Linked DNA regions of Homo sapiens: regions 2 and 3 are each linked to region 1. Evidence: promoter capture Hi-C in 16 types of primary human blood cells and fetal thymus (Javierre and others, 2016). All regions are on one chromosome and are shown on one strand. Each heading gives the region's core, a stretch centred on a gene start or on the middle of the fragment in contact. The rest is flanking DNA. Distances are from core to core; before and after follow the strand shown.

What was found. Contacts are between HindIII fragments. The CHiCAGO score rates a contact against its expected background, and 5 or more counts as called.
Region 2: a fragment that was not itself captured here is called in contact with the fragment with the promoter of CAHM in region 1 in 3 of 17 cell types (total CD4 T cells, non-activated CD4 T cells and activated CD4 T cells); the score reaches 10.9 in total CD4 T cells.
Region 3: a fragment that was not itself captured here is called in contact with the fragment with the promoter of CAHM in region 1 in 1 of 17 cell types (fetal thymus); the score reaches 7.7 in fetal thymus.

What each region holds. Positions count from the first base shown.
Region 1 is chr6:163,411,845-163,415,984 of GRCh38, reverse strand. CAHM (colon adenocarcinoma hypermethylated) reads left to right here and starts at 2,035. Exons shown (of 1, transcript NR_037593.1): 1 at 2,035-2,920. QKI (QKI, KH domain containing RNA binding) reads right to left here and starts at 1,267. Exons shown (of 8, transcript NM_006775.3): 1 at 650-1,267. The coding sequence starts at 791. It overlaps LOC124901234 (basic proline-rich protein-like), which reads right to left. Exons shown (of 4, transcript XM_047419614.1): 2 at 1,900-3,371; 3 at 1,317-1,736; 4 at 809-1,020. The coding sequence starts at 2,779. The coding sequence ends at 809. RefSeq lists silencers at 249-438, 639-688, 939-1,758, 1,849-2,628 and enhancers at 709-1,362, 1,363-2,015. The HindIII fragment of the contact is 4,236 bases long and covers 1-3,652 here.
Region 2 is chr6:113,968,019-113,972,583 of GRCh38, reverse strand. It overlaps HDAC2 (histone deacetylase 2), which reads left to right and starts at 1,436. Exons shown (of 14, transcript NM_001527.4): 1 at 1,436-1,727. The coding sequence starts at 1,676. It overlaps HDAC2-AS2 (HDAC2 and HS3ST5 antisense RNA 2), which reads right to left and starts at 2,883. Exons shown (of 10, transcript NR_125845.1): 1 at 2,306-2,883. RefSeq lists silencers at 926-1,105, 1,081-1,524, 1,466-1,765, 1,976-2,295 and an enhancer at 941-1,919. The HindIII fragment of the contact is 2,571 bases long and covers 1,256-3,826 here.
Region 3 is chr6:113,853,533-113,858,260 of GRCh38, reverse strand. It overlaps MARCKS (myristoylated alanine rich protein kinase C substrate), which reads right to left and starts at 916. Exons shown (of 2, transcript NM_002356.7): 1 at 414-916. The coding sequence starts at 515. RefSeq lists enhancers at 835-884, 672-1,215, 1,216-1,761, 2,032-2,081, 2,102-2,161 and a silencer at 2,952-3,161. The HindIII fragment of the contact is 426 bases long and covers 2,048-2,473 here.

The DNA.
Region 1 (4,140 bases), core at 786-3,285:
TCGCCGTCACTTAGTCCTCCTTGTCGGCTACGCCAGCATAATTTCGGTCTCCTACGGAATTTCTTTAAACTAACGAGCCCCACACTGACTTCCACTTAGTATTGAACAGCTGCACCAACTCCCCAACCACGAAACCCCGCTTTAGTCCTCACGGGAGGGGAGAGCTCCCGAACGCGGGGCGGTGGGGGTCCGCGCAGAGCAGGCTCGGGAGGCCGAGCGGAGGAGCGGGGCCCGCGCCGGGCACACGCGTCCTCCAGGCCGGCGGCGCGGCGTGGGCCTGCTCTCGGGAGGGCTCGGCGAGGACCACCGAGTCCGCGCAGCCCCCGCCGACCTCTCGGAAATGTGACCGCCGAAGCTAGAGGGGCCGCAGGGCTCACCCCGCAGCCCTCCGCAACGCGCCAACTTGGACGCCAGCGGCGCGGGGTCCCGGCCGGGCAGGGGGCGTCCGGCACCGGCGGGTCCACCCCGGCCCGCCCGCCCGCCGCAAGCCCGGCCCGGCACCTCCTTTGTGCGCCCTCCTGGCCTCCCAGTCCCCCCGGCGCTCGGTCCCGCCCGGCCGTGACCTTCCCGCCCTCCCCACCATCCCAAGCGGGGAAAGGGGCCGCCCCGGCGGGGGTCGGGCCGGGGCCGGGGCCCTGGAGACGCTCACCTTCGTCCAGCAGCCGCTCGAGGTGGTTGAAGATCCCGCAGAAGTTGGGCAGGCTGCTCATGAGCTTCTTGTCGTTCATCAGCTGCATCAGGTAATCTGGGGTGGGCTTCGGCTTCTCCTTCGTTTCCATTTCCCCGACCATATTCCAGGCTCCGCAGCTCACTCCGCCCGCCGCCGCCGCCGCCGCCGCCGGAGAGGAGGGAGGGGCGGGGGCGAGCCCCGGCCGCGGGCCGCTCGGGACCCGGCGTCCCGCTCCGCGCCGGCTCCCGCTCTGGCTCCCGCGCCGAGCCCCGGGGCGGCCGGCACCGCGCGCTCGCCCGCCCCCCGCAGGCACTTTCCGCCCGGGCCCGACGCGCTCCCAGCCGCCGCCGCTCTCGGCCGCCCGGCTCGGCGCGTCCCTCACGAGGCCGGCGGGCGGGCGGGAGGCGGGTCTCGGCTGGCCGAGTGCGGGCGCGGGGCGCGGGCTGCTGGCGCCGGACGAGGAGGAGCCGGGGCCGCCGCTCGCTCGGCTGGTCGAGCCCGCTCAGCGCCGCCGCCGCCTGTGCCGCGGGCTCGGGGGGTCTCTCTGGGCTGGTCCCCGCCGCGGCGCCTCTGCCGCTGCCGCCGCGCTCCGACTGCGCTCCTCCTCTTCCTCCTCCTCCTTCTCCTCCTCCTCCTCCTCACTCACTTGGCGGCGGAGTTCGCCTCAGTTCAGGCGGCGCTGCCAGCGGCGGCGGCAGCAGCGGCGGCGGCGGGGGGAGGGGCAGCGGCGCGGGGAGGGCCGGGGGCGGGCGGCGGGCGGGGCCGCGCAGGGCGGCCGTTAGCGGGTCCCGGCCGGCGCGCTCCCGCTGCCTGCTGCCCGCCGCCCCGCGACCGGGGCAGCCGCCGGCGCCGCGCCCCCTCCTCCCTGCCTCCCCGGCGGGGCGGGCGACGGGGGCAACGGGAGTGTGACGGACTGCGGCGCTCGGCGGGCCTGGGCGCAAGGACTGGGTCGCCGCCGTGCGGGGCGCCCGGGGCGGGTGGGTGTGGGCTGCGGGGCCGACGGCCGCGGGGGGGGCGCGGGGCTTTCCACGGCACGGGGCGGGTGGGGCTGCGGGCGCGGTCGGGGCTGGCGCGGCAGGCGAGAGGAATTCCAGCGGGACGCGCCAGCGCTGCCTCCGCCTCGCCTCCCGTTACTATAGTTTTTTCAGAACCTCTTATCCACCCCGCAGAAGAGAAATTTTTTTTTAACGTCCTGTTGCTTCACGGGGGACTTTCGGGGTGGGCATCACGTGGCCCGACACGTAGCCGTGGGGCTCCAGAGCGCGTGCGCGCGTCGAGCCCGGTCGCCACGCCCCTTCCGAGGGTCGCTCCGCCCCCGTCGGGCCCCGCGAGCGCGCGGTGGGGGAGGGGAGGGCCCCGGAGCGCGCCTGCGTGGGGCGGGGGCGGCAGCCGACTAGGGGCTGGGTCTGGCCGTTTAGGGCCGGGTCTTGGCCCGTCGCCCACGGTGCGGAGGGCTGGTGGGCTTTCCTTGGCCGTCGGGCCCGCCACGGCGCGGGTCTTGGCTGCGGGGCGGAGGTGGGGCGGGAGAGCCGAGGATAAGAGTTTGAGGCTTTTCGAGGCGCGTGCCGCGGCGTCCGCCTCTGCGGGACTCTGCGCCGGGCGCCCTCGGCCGGCGCGCCCGGCTCCCGCTTTGTCGCCGAGGGAAGCACGCGCGACGCCCCTCCCGTCGCCGCCGTGGCTTCTTTCGGTGTTCGTGATTTGCTGAGAGGCTGGAAAGCAGCACGGCGGAGAGGAGCCTTGCACTCGCCAGGCGGGAAGCCTGCGCGGACACGCGTGCGCACCCACGGGGCGGCGGGCGGGCGTGGGGGGTCCGGGCCACGCGGGCGACGCGCCTCTAGGGAAGCGATCTTGTTGCACCTTCCCGTTATTCTGAAAGCAAATCGTAGCCAGACCCGAGCGCAGCGGCTTAGCAAATAATAAGGGGAGCGTCAGTCGTGCTCGAAATGCTTCCTTCGCGATGGCGTCAGTGTTCCGTGAGGGAATGAAGCCGCAGTAGGAAATAAAGAGGCTGTGCGCGTAGTCTGAAAAGCAGAAGTCAACATTTTTACAGATGAAGAAAGAATACGGAGGCAAGAGGTCTTTCTCTGCAGTTTGGTGGATTTCCAACATTTAGACTTGTTTGGAAGAATTTCCTCAGCTGCACCAATGAAGTCCTTGATCTATAGAAGTCGGCAGTCCCTAAATCTACGTCTGCATTTTGTTGCAAATCCTTTATAACATTCCATTAAAATAATGCAGAGTTATTTAATATCCAGTTGGCCATCGTGAGAGTAATTCGCGGCTGAGATTTTGTTAATCATTCTGTCTTCTGACTTAACAGTGAACGTAGGTGATTTTTTTTGTAAAATGTTGCTTCACATGAATTGTGAGAATCACCTCTAAGTTTGAATTGTACTGAAGGCACTATAAGAATTTCAAATGAACGCTGAGTAGCCAGTAGCCTTCTGGCCTTTTCGTTTAACAAGCACAGAGTTCGTTTTTAAAATTAAGTTACTTTGACAGAGGAAATGTAATAGCCTTGGTAGACAACATTAAAAATGTAACTGTCAGATGTTTTAAAGTCTCCAACAGCCGTATCTGTTTTAGAGCCATAGAATATTTACTTACTGAATTGCCTGTTTAAAGATGAACTTTCTAAATGCAGGGAATAGTAACTTGCAAAAAAGCTATGGTCTCTAAGTAATGAAGGCTGTTTCAGTACCTAGAAAAATCAAAATCAAGGTTTTGATGCTGCTAGTGTAAAAGATGCAATCCCCTTCTTAATGGCCTGCTTATTTATTAAGCTCCTAGGCACTATGCTGAATGCCCTACATGCATATCTCGTTTAATCATCAGTACAACTTGGGCTTAGGTTAGACTGTTATCCCCATTTTACAAATAAGGGGAAACCCAAGAAAGATGAAGTTAAGTAACTTGCCCAAGAATATAGCTAGTGAGTCCTGTGTCTGGGATTATAATCCAATTATATTTTATTCTAAAGCTTTTTTTTTTTTTTTTGCTTTTTTTCCTTGCCCTATCCTTTAAATCAGGTTGAATTTTATGACAATATTCCACCATTTTTGACCCATAGAAATGGCAGTGTCATAAGGCTCAACCACTTAAACCAGATTAAAGAACAATGATAGGCAATTTTCATTTCCTATGTATTAAATCACTTACGGTTACAGCATTTGATAATAGCTACTGTGTGTTAATTTTCTTTTTTTTGAAACAGAATTTCGCTCTTGTCACCCAGGCTGGAGTGCAATGGCGCGATCTCGGCTCACTGCAACCTCTGCCTCCCCGGTTCAAGTGATTCTCCTGCCCCAGCCTCCCGAGCAGCTGGGATTACAGGCATGCGCCACCACGCCTAGCTAATTTTGTATTTTTAGTAGAGACGGGGGTTTCTCCATGTTGGTCAGGCTGGTCTCGAACTCCCGACCTCAGGTGATCCGCCCCCCTCAACCTCCCAAAGTGCTGGGATTACAGGC
Region 2 (4,565 bases), core at 1,292-3,791, about 49 Mb after region 1:
TTCTACTAAATTCACTTATTCTGTTCTCAGAATCTTCCAAGTTGATTTTGTACTTGATAGAGCACAACTTAGAAGGTCAATTAACTTTACCTCTAGGCCAGTGTTTCACTCACCGTAATTTCTCTAGCAACTTCATCAGTCACCTGGGGTCTTGTTAAAAATACAGAGGAGGGGGCGGAGGGAGGGCAGGGGCCACCCTGGACTTAACTTTTTCTAAATCTCTTGGGGGTGAGGTTGGGGAAAATTGCTGCTTTAAGCATGAACACTTTCGGGATTTTGAAGTCAAACAGCAAATTAAAAGGGGTATTTTTGGTAGTGGCTCTTAAATTCCAGCATCAATACAGCCTTTTTTTTTTTTTAATAGGGGTGTATTTGGGGGGTAGGGATAGCAATTTTATATAACTGGGATTGGGTGCTATAAAACAGGCTGTTAGCCTCCAGCCCTCACCTGCAAGGTGGCTGGCTTAAGGTAGGTACTTGATAAATGTGGATTTATTTAACAGAGGAACACTTGTATTCATAACCTCCAAGAGTTTCGAAAGTCTTTCTGCTCCAATCTTCCAGTGTCTAGCCAGCAGCATTGCTGCAGAGTGGAACAGCTAGGGTGCGTGGAGTTTGCAGAATGAGTTCAAACCTCCAGACTTATCAGTTAGCAGTAAGAACAAGTTCCTTAATCTGCCTCCACCTATAAAGAAGGAGTACAATTGCCACTTACCTCCTAGAGTTGTTGAGAGTCTTAAATGAGATTAAATATTATAAATAGATTATCAATGGAATATATTATAAATGCAAGTGCTTAGAACTGTACCTTATAAATGAGCTCCACAGATGCTTATTAAAACCCGAGCGGTGCCCTCTCCCCTTAACATCCGTAATAGGCCCCCTTACACCTCATACCCATTACGAGTCAAAATAATAATAATAATAATAAATAAGTGAACAAACGACAAACGAGAAAACTAGGCTACCAGGCACTGGGGCGATGGGCCACAGCCCGGCGGGGTAGTGGGCCCGGAAGGGGCGCGGGAGTGGGCTCTCCCCGCCGGGCTCGCGGCACGTGGTCGGCTTGGGCGGGAGCTTCGCGACAGTGGGGGAGGGGAGCAGCGTGGGACGCCGAGGAGGGGTCCAGACCGCCAAGGCTACGAGGCGCCGACTGCGCAGGCTCGGGGACAGGCGCAACCACTGCGCGCAGACCTGAGGGGGAGAACGTCCACCCGGCTGCACGCTCCCTGGATCTACTTGCGCAGCGAAAGCTTGTCTTCTTCCTCATTTTAACACTGTGTATGGCGCCGCCTTGCGCAGGTTGTTCACCCTAACAGGGCCTCTAACCTCGAGCCCGAAACGGCCTCCTTCTCCAGCCGTGCCCCTTCCTCCCCCGTGGAGGCCGCAGTGGATGCGCTCACCTCCCTGCGGCCTCCTGAGGTGGTTTGGTGGCCCCCTCCTCGCGAGTTGGTGCCGCTGCCACCTCCGATTCCGAGCTTTCGGCACCTCTGCCGGGTGGTACCGAGCCTTCCCGGCGCCCCCTCCTCTCCTCCCACCGGCCTGCCCTTCCCCGCGGGACTATCGCCCCCACGTTTCCCTCAGCCCTTTTCTCTCCCGGCCGAGCCGCGGCGGCAGCAGCAGCAGCAGCAGCAGCAGGAGGAGGAGCCCGGTGGCGGCGGTGGCCGGGGAGCCCATGGCGTACAGTCAAGGAGGCGGCAAAAAAAAAGTCTGCTACTACTACGACGGTGAGCGGCCGGGCCGGTGTCGGGGTGGGCGCGCGGGGCCGGGCGCTGGGTTCCGCGGCTGCCGTCGCGAGTGGGCGCCGGGGCTGAGGGGTGGGAAGGAGGAGGGACCGACATTTGGCCGCATCTTAACCCGTTCCCGGCCCGGCACAGTTAGAACGAGACCCTCTTCCTGGCGCAGCCCCCGCGGTTCCTGCGGGCGGGAATCAGGGGGCCCGCCCGTCTTGTCTCCTGCCTCTCCCCCTTCGGCCGTGCAGTCCGCAGCCTCGAAGGTGGCCGCCGCTGGGGACGGCGCCGGCCTACCCCGCCTTGGTGGTGGCGGCGGCGAAGGGGGCGGCCCATTCTCTCCCTTCTCCCGCCCACCATTCGTGGCAACGCAGGTTTGGGGTGCCCCGCGTCGGCCTCCTACCCCCTCGACCCGTCCCCCGCGAGGCAAAATTTCTATCCCGGCCTTGACTCTACACAAAGCCCCGCGGCCGCGAGAGCTCCGCCCCTCCCGTCCCCTTCCCTCCTCCTCGCCTGCTCGCCTCCCCTACCCTGCGTTCGGTCTGGCCGGAGCGTCTTCTCCTTCCTCGGCTTACCCTTTCCCCGGACCCCTCCTCCCGGTGGGCGCTGGAGAGTAGTTACTGAGGGTGGGGGCTCAGGTCGCGTGTGGCTTTATCACACCCATGTTTTGCGTGGGCTCCAACCCTCTCCTTTGTTCGCTGGGTTCTTTGAGCGCGTCTTTCTCAGGATTCAAATGGAAGGGCTTCACTTCCTCAATAATAGTTCGGGTTTTCCAGTTTCAGGCAGAAAGACTTCGTAGGAAATAAGAGGTGGTAGGGAGATGTGGAACTGCTACTGCTTGTGTTGTAGATCAGACTCCATGGGTCCTGGCTTGCCTCAGAGAGGTGGTTACCACCCACTTCTTTGTTGCTCTTTGTTCGATCAGGAAATAGACCCTGCTTTGGGGATTTAGAGAGCATTGGTATCTTGCAAAGGCTGTTCCTAGGTGGTGGGGAATCCTGGTATGGGAAAACTTTGAGAAGTGGGAGAAGTGCAGAAGTACTAAATATTCTAATGAGGTAAATTTGAGGTCACCGTGTAGTGAATTATAAAAGTCAGATAATTTAATTATCTTAAGCATTCTATAATTTGGAGTATGAGCAGTAACATTAAATCTTCGAATCCTGTTTCCTGTGTTTTCTTGCTCAATGGAGTAGTAACCTGTTATACAGATTTCACAAAGGCTTGGTAAATAGTTTATAGTAGGTTACTCTTGAGAGAAGGGATTCCAAAATTTAACAGAGAATCTATCCTAGGCTCCTTCTCCTGAAAGTCCTGTCTGATTTGTAGGAAGCAATACAAATTTTGGAAGCTGTTTCCTACATGTGGTGTATTGTAAATCACAAAATTTTAGAGAAGTAAGACCCCAGAGCACCAGCTCAGAATAAATCTACTTTAACTTGTAAATGACCGTACTGTCTCTTTTTAGTTAAAAAGGATTAATCTTTTAATGACTGATACATATAAAATAACCACCTGTGTCATTTGGGGAAAATCTGAAATCTTACAGAACAAATCTAAATTGATCTGCGATAGCTAGGACAGAATAATAACAGCCCTACTTTTAAAAATGATTTTTCAGAGGACTAGATATGCATTATATAAGTTGATTTGAAATTATGCCATCGTGGAGGGGTGGAGATGGAAATACATTTTAATTTCAACATGATTTACATTGCATATTTTGGGTTATTCTTGCCCTGCATTCCCTGATCAAATTGGAAAGGAAGTAACCCTGCGTATAAGTTAATTTGTAAAATTACATTGTTTCTAAAGTTTAGAGATTTATCCTTGTCAGGGCTTGGAGTAAAGAGGAAAATTTTGGTTAGGGAAAGTGGTACTGAGGTCCTTCTCGAAGCTGTCAGTTGGTGTTGGTAGTGATGGGCTCTGAGGAAGTAAGCTGCTTGTAATTTGTTGTCACCACAATGGAACCCTAGAACCAGGAGGGTACACTTGAGTAGCAGTTTCTGAACAGCGCTCTTGTCCTGGGCCCATTTATGATAACCTTCGTTGTGGGAATGGGAGCAGGCACGGGTACCCGGGAAAGGATGCAAGCTTGATAAGTAGGGTGGAAATATTTGTCTTGTGATTGTGACTTAATATGATACTTTATTGTAGCCCATTCACCTGCTTACGTGATGGCCAGCAACAAGTGAATAGCTGATAGTTTGGAAATCTCTGGTGGGTTATTTTGTCTTTTGTCTGTGACTCGTTTGTTAAAGTGGAGTTCCTAGTTGCTTATGTTTCACATACTCTTTTAATTTTTGTGGGAGGGAATTAAAATATTTTGCAGAGATTATTAATGTTTATATTATGCTAATTATTAATATGTGATAGTGTGCTGACCTCATCCAAAAACTTATATTTTTATTACCAGAGAACATTGTTTTGTCAGCTTACAAAAGTAGCAATACTAATTCTTTTTTTATTGTGAGAAGAGAATGCAAGGAAAGGAGCTTCTGTATCAAAGAATCGTGACTTTAAGGTATATAACATGGATTGGATTGGGAATGGGTTATATCTGTAGTAATAGGGTCTGAATTATCTGCTAGCCTAGGTTAGATGGTTTTAACTTCTTGGTAAAGGAAGTAGAAGGAAGAAAGTGAGTGAAAAAGAAAAGGACGGAAGTAGCAAATTCTATAACCATAGGAATCCTACCTTTAGGCTTCCTGGGGCTGTTAGGCACACGGAGCCTCTTGGCCACACAGAATGTCTGCCACTGAGGCTGTTTGCATCTTAATGAAAGAACTTTTAAATATATACATATTGTTCTCTGCACGTTATGTAATCTTCAGG
Region 3 (4,728 bases), core at 1,011-3,510, about 50 Mb after region 1:
CACAATCACACCACCAGTTCAGAAATCTCGAAGACAATCCAGCTTCGACAACAAACCCGAGAGACACCCAAACACCATTGTGCCCCCAAACACAAATGAAACCTGGCTGGGGGCGGGGGAAGGAGGGCACCTAGCTAGTCACGTTCTGCCAATCTCCAAACCACGCCATTTTAGACGATTTATCACTCCTTTCCTCCCGTCTACTCAAGAATTCTCCAGGATTCTAAGGAACCACTCCTTTGGTGTGGGGGGACCCCGGCTATGAAAAATCCACAATTTAGGCTATCCATTTCCATTCAACTTTCAGACTAGAATCCAGCCACACTCCTCTCCACGAATGAGCCTTGGGAGCCACCAGGAGGGAAGGAGAGAAAGACACGAAATAAATGACCACAACCACAGGTAGAATTTACCTGTCCGTTCGCTTTGGAAGGCGACGAGGCCACAGCCGCCTCCCCAGGCCTCTCCGCGGCGGCTTCTCCCTTCGCTGCGGTCTTGGAGAACTGGGCACCCATGCTGGCTTCTTCAACAAAGAAACTCAACAGATCCAAGAGGGGAAACAAAGAGCCTCGGGTTGGTGTAACGACGGGGCGAGCAGCAGCAGCAGCGGCGGCGGCAACAGCGGCAGCGGCACACACACCGGAGGGAGGGGGGTGGGGGTGGTGGAGAGGACAGAACAGAACCGATTAAATACACTCCGGATAAAAAAATTTTAGTCGAAGAGATCAAAAAGCAGCAGCACAGGAGGGAGGGAAAAAGGGTGGAAAAGTCGAGCACAAAAAAAGGAGCCCAAGTGTAGTTCGAAAAAAAAAGAAGTAATAAAAAAATCCCAGATTTGTAGCCGCACTGTAGACAAGAGGAAAATGGAGAAATCTCCCTGGTTGCTAATAAGATGCGGGGTCCAACGCCCAAGTGCACAGATGAATGGGCTCGCGGGCGCTGACGCGGCCCCCGCGCGCGTCGGCCAATCCGCGCGCCGCACACAAAGCAGGGGGCGGGGTCTGCGCGCCTGGCGAACAATGGAGCCGCGCTTTGCAAACGGTTTGAAAATCAGCCTCAGACCGAGAATTAATGTCCTCCAAATAAATAAATCAATTAAAAAATACATGGCACTCGTCTCTCTCTGCTTGAAAATAATAATGCATTTCTTGATTGGCTTGCTTTGTTTGGAATTAATTAACACGGGAGGGGGGTACTTGTGCATCGGGGCGGAGAAAGCGTTAACTTGACTCGCATTGACTCTCGTCGGTCTATATCCGTGTGTCTCTCTCTCTCCACTCGCTCCCCTCCCCCATCTTTCCGTGTGTTTATGTGTATGTGTGTGTATGCGAGTGTTAAAGACAATGGTTGCGATTTGTGTGTTTGCAGCATGTTTTCTTTCTTTTTTCCATATTGGTTTTACAGATAATGCTCAGGGTTTGTTTTTTGAACTGCTGCAATGGTTAAATCGTCCCAAATTGAAAGGTATTTAAACCACGAAGATCGAATTTCATCAAGCGAGATCGCAAGTTAGAATTAGGTCTGTAGGCCAGATGTGGAAAATGCAAAAGCGGCAAACAGCGAAGCCACACTCCCTTCCCTCTCCCACATTGGCATGAAATAAAATATTTTGAGATTGGCCTTGGGCGCTCAACAAATTCCCCCTTCTCTGGCTATTCCCAATTAGTGATTTTTTTCCCCCACAATTCAAAGTGAGAGCCATTTACAGAAGATCGAAACTCTTCGCGTTTTATCACTGTTTTAAATGACATAATTTTCCTCTATGGTGAAATGAGACACAGCCTCGAGTAGACGAATCCATATTTACAGTTGGGATGTTATTCGCGTCAATATGGATCGTTTTCAGCCTACTGCCAGAATCGAATGGACTCTTTTTGAACGTGTGTGTGAGTGCGCACGCAGGCGAATGTGCTCCTGAAAGGAAGGGAGGCAGCAGCAACGATGACATTCTAAACCGGATTGCAGTTCTAAGGAGAAATGTTCTGTATGTTGAGAGATAGCAAGATCCCTGAGCTCTCCAAGTCTAACTTGGGTTAGAGGAAAACCTTCTATAATGGTACACAGGATACCTCCATCTGTCACTGCACTCCTTGCCACCGAAGTACCAGACGCTTTTTGTGCGTGAGAGACAAGGCACTGACTTAAAGTATGAGGGGTGAGGGGAACCAAGGAAACAGCTTAATAAGCATTTTCTTCCCAAAGTTTTCACTCGTGGCAAAATCAGACCACCTTTTCTCGTTTACATTTGGTGATCTTGCAAGGAATAATCTTTCGCTTATGAAGGTGAGAAGCAGTCGAGGGAATGGTTCATTTCTCCTGGTGCTGGCTCTGAATTCTCAAACAGTTTTATTTTCTGCTCATTGTAGGGAAATAGGTCACACTCTGAGTGAAAAAGACGGTTGGTTCAAGCCAGTAACTCTTTGTTCAAGCGTTGCTTTAAAAATCACCAAGCTGAACATTGTTACGTGAAGCTTCGTCTTCTCACTGTCCAGTTCCTTCAGATGCATTATTCGACCATGGTCATATTCCCCAGAGCTGATGTAAAGACGTTTCCGTAGAAATGCATCTTGCCAGCAAACGTGTTATTACCCTTAAGAGAGCCCGCTGGCCTGGCCCACGACCCCAGCCGCCAGGATGGACGCAAATCCCTTGTATTAGCAGTTCCAACTTGAAAAGCCAACTGGGCTGATCCGACACCACCATCCAGGCGATTCCCAAAAGCCCATTTAAGGCTCTTGATTTCCCCCCACCCCCAACGTGAATCATGCCCCTTCCTCCGCATCCCCCTCCTATTTTAAATTGGGGTGACTGCTAGCTCGCTTTCAGATTTTCTCCCAGACGCGTCCTTAGCCCTCCATTTGGGGGCTGCTTTTATTGCTCCTTTGTTACCAGGCTGCCGTGTAGCTTTCCCCCCTTTTCTTTCTGGTACGCCTATTTGCCTGGTATCGGCTGGTCTCCCTGGCAACGGCCGGGGAAGATTCGGAGCACTGGGCCGGGGAGGGGGAAGAGGCGGAGCCGGCGCTGGGGGGTGACGGTGGGGGAGACGGGGGCTGGGAGTGGTGGAGGGGAGAGGGGCCGAGTGAGAGACTGGGAGACAGACTGCGAAGCAGATGGCCGCGCGAGGGGGCGGGGTGCGGGCGGGGTGCGGGCGGGGCGCGGCGGGGGGACAGTCCCAGCGTCAGGGGCGCAAGGGAGCCAATCAATTCCCGCAGCAGCTCCGGGGCAAAAAAAAAAAAAAAAAAAAAAAAAAGTGTAAACACATAGATTCCCTCCCCACGAGCGGTCTCGGTCTCTAGTTTACAGTAGAAAGATGATTTCTTTTTGATACGCAAGCGCATTCTACGGTAGCTGGAAAGCCGACAGTCCCCAGCAAGTGGCAGGCGGAGGCTCCTTGGGGGCGCTGCCGGCGGCCGCTGAGGGCTGGGCCACCCTTTCCCCAACCTCCCCCAGCGACTAGCGTCGTCCAAGCAAGGGATTTCTTCAGCTTATAGGGAAGGGGGTCCCGGCGGAGGATGGGTGAGGAAGAACGGGCTGGGAAATGGGAAACGGTTGTGGTTCTTCTTGAAAACCTGCATAATGACAGGGAAGGAAGGCCAAGAACGTGGAACTAGTAGGGAAGCAGTACAGTGCAAGTGTGGCTCGCTCCTCAGGAGTTTGGTGTTCTCACACGCAGAGTTAAAGGTTTCAAATAAAGCGCCAAAAGTGTTTATATAAATATGACTAAAGAACCCAAGAGTTCATAGTGAAAATGTAAAACCGGTGTCTGTAACCAAATCAGCAGGAAGAAACGGTCATTTATTTTTTATTTGTACTCCACTTTCACCCTGCCCTAACATATTTGCAAGATAATAATAATCGGTGTATAGGTTTCTTTTTAGAAAAAAAGCAATTTATTTAAGAGACCTGTTATTTTTCTGCAAAATGTTAGCGTTGGAAAGAATTTTAGAGACCATTCCACAAAATCTTGAGGGCCCAGTGTGCCAAACACAATAATCTAGATCTTGTTTTCATATCATTGAACAATATAAACTCAGTCTCTGACCTTCAGGGGCTTCCAATTTAGAAGATCATCTAGTGAAGTTGAACTGGAGCACCTGGCTTCCCCCTCTCAACGATGAAGAAATAGGCACCAGAGCGTTGCCAGATTTCTCAGATGGTAGAGCCACGAATAGAGCTCAGCCCCCTTGATGATTCTGAGTCCTGGCTTTTTCCACCACTGCCAGTGCTGCCATCTTCCCTTGATGGCACAGATTCACTCAGTAGGTCAGTCATTCATTCTTAAAGTATTTATTAAGGTCCTCCTAAGTGCGAGGAAAAAGGCTTTAGACATCAGCTTACACCAGGGACAAATATAGACATGGTCTTTCCTCTCATGCAGCTTACATTTGTATTATTATTTCTTAAAACTTCTTAATATGTGAAGAAAGAAAGAAAAACAAGATTAACTGTGTGCTTAAAAAACAATACAAAAGATGACAGCCACTTTGTAGATTCCAAATTAAATACGCCTTTTTCACCTGGAAGCATTCATGCATTCACAACATATGCAATCCCACTGTGCAGGCAGTGTTCTGCTCCATCCTTCATCTTAGATTTTATGCTACTTGAAATTTAATTCCACAGAAATTGATTAGCTTGCAATGTGGTGGGGAGGAAAACAGACATAGCCCCTCAGTTCACTCGGCAAGCATTTATTGAACTCCTATCATGTAGTAGGCATTTGGGATA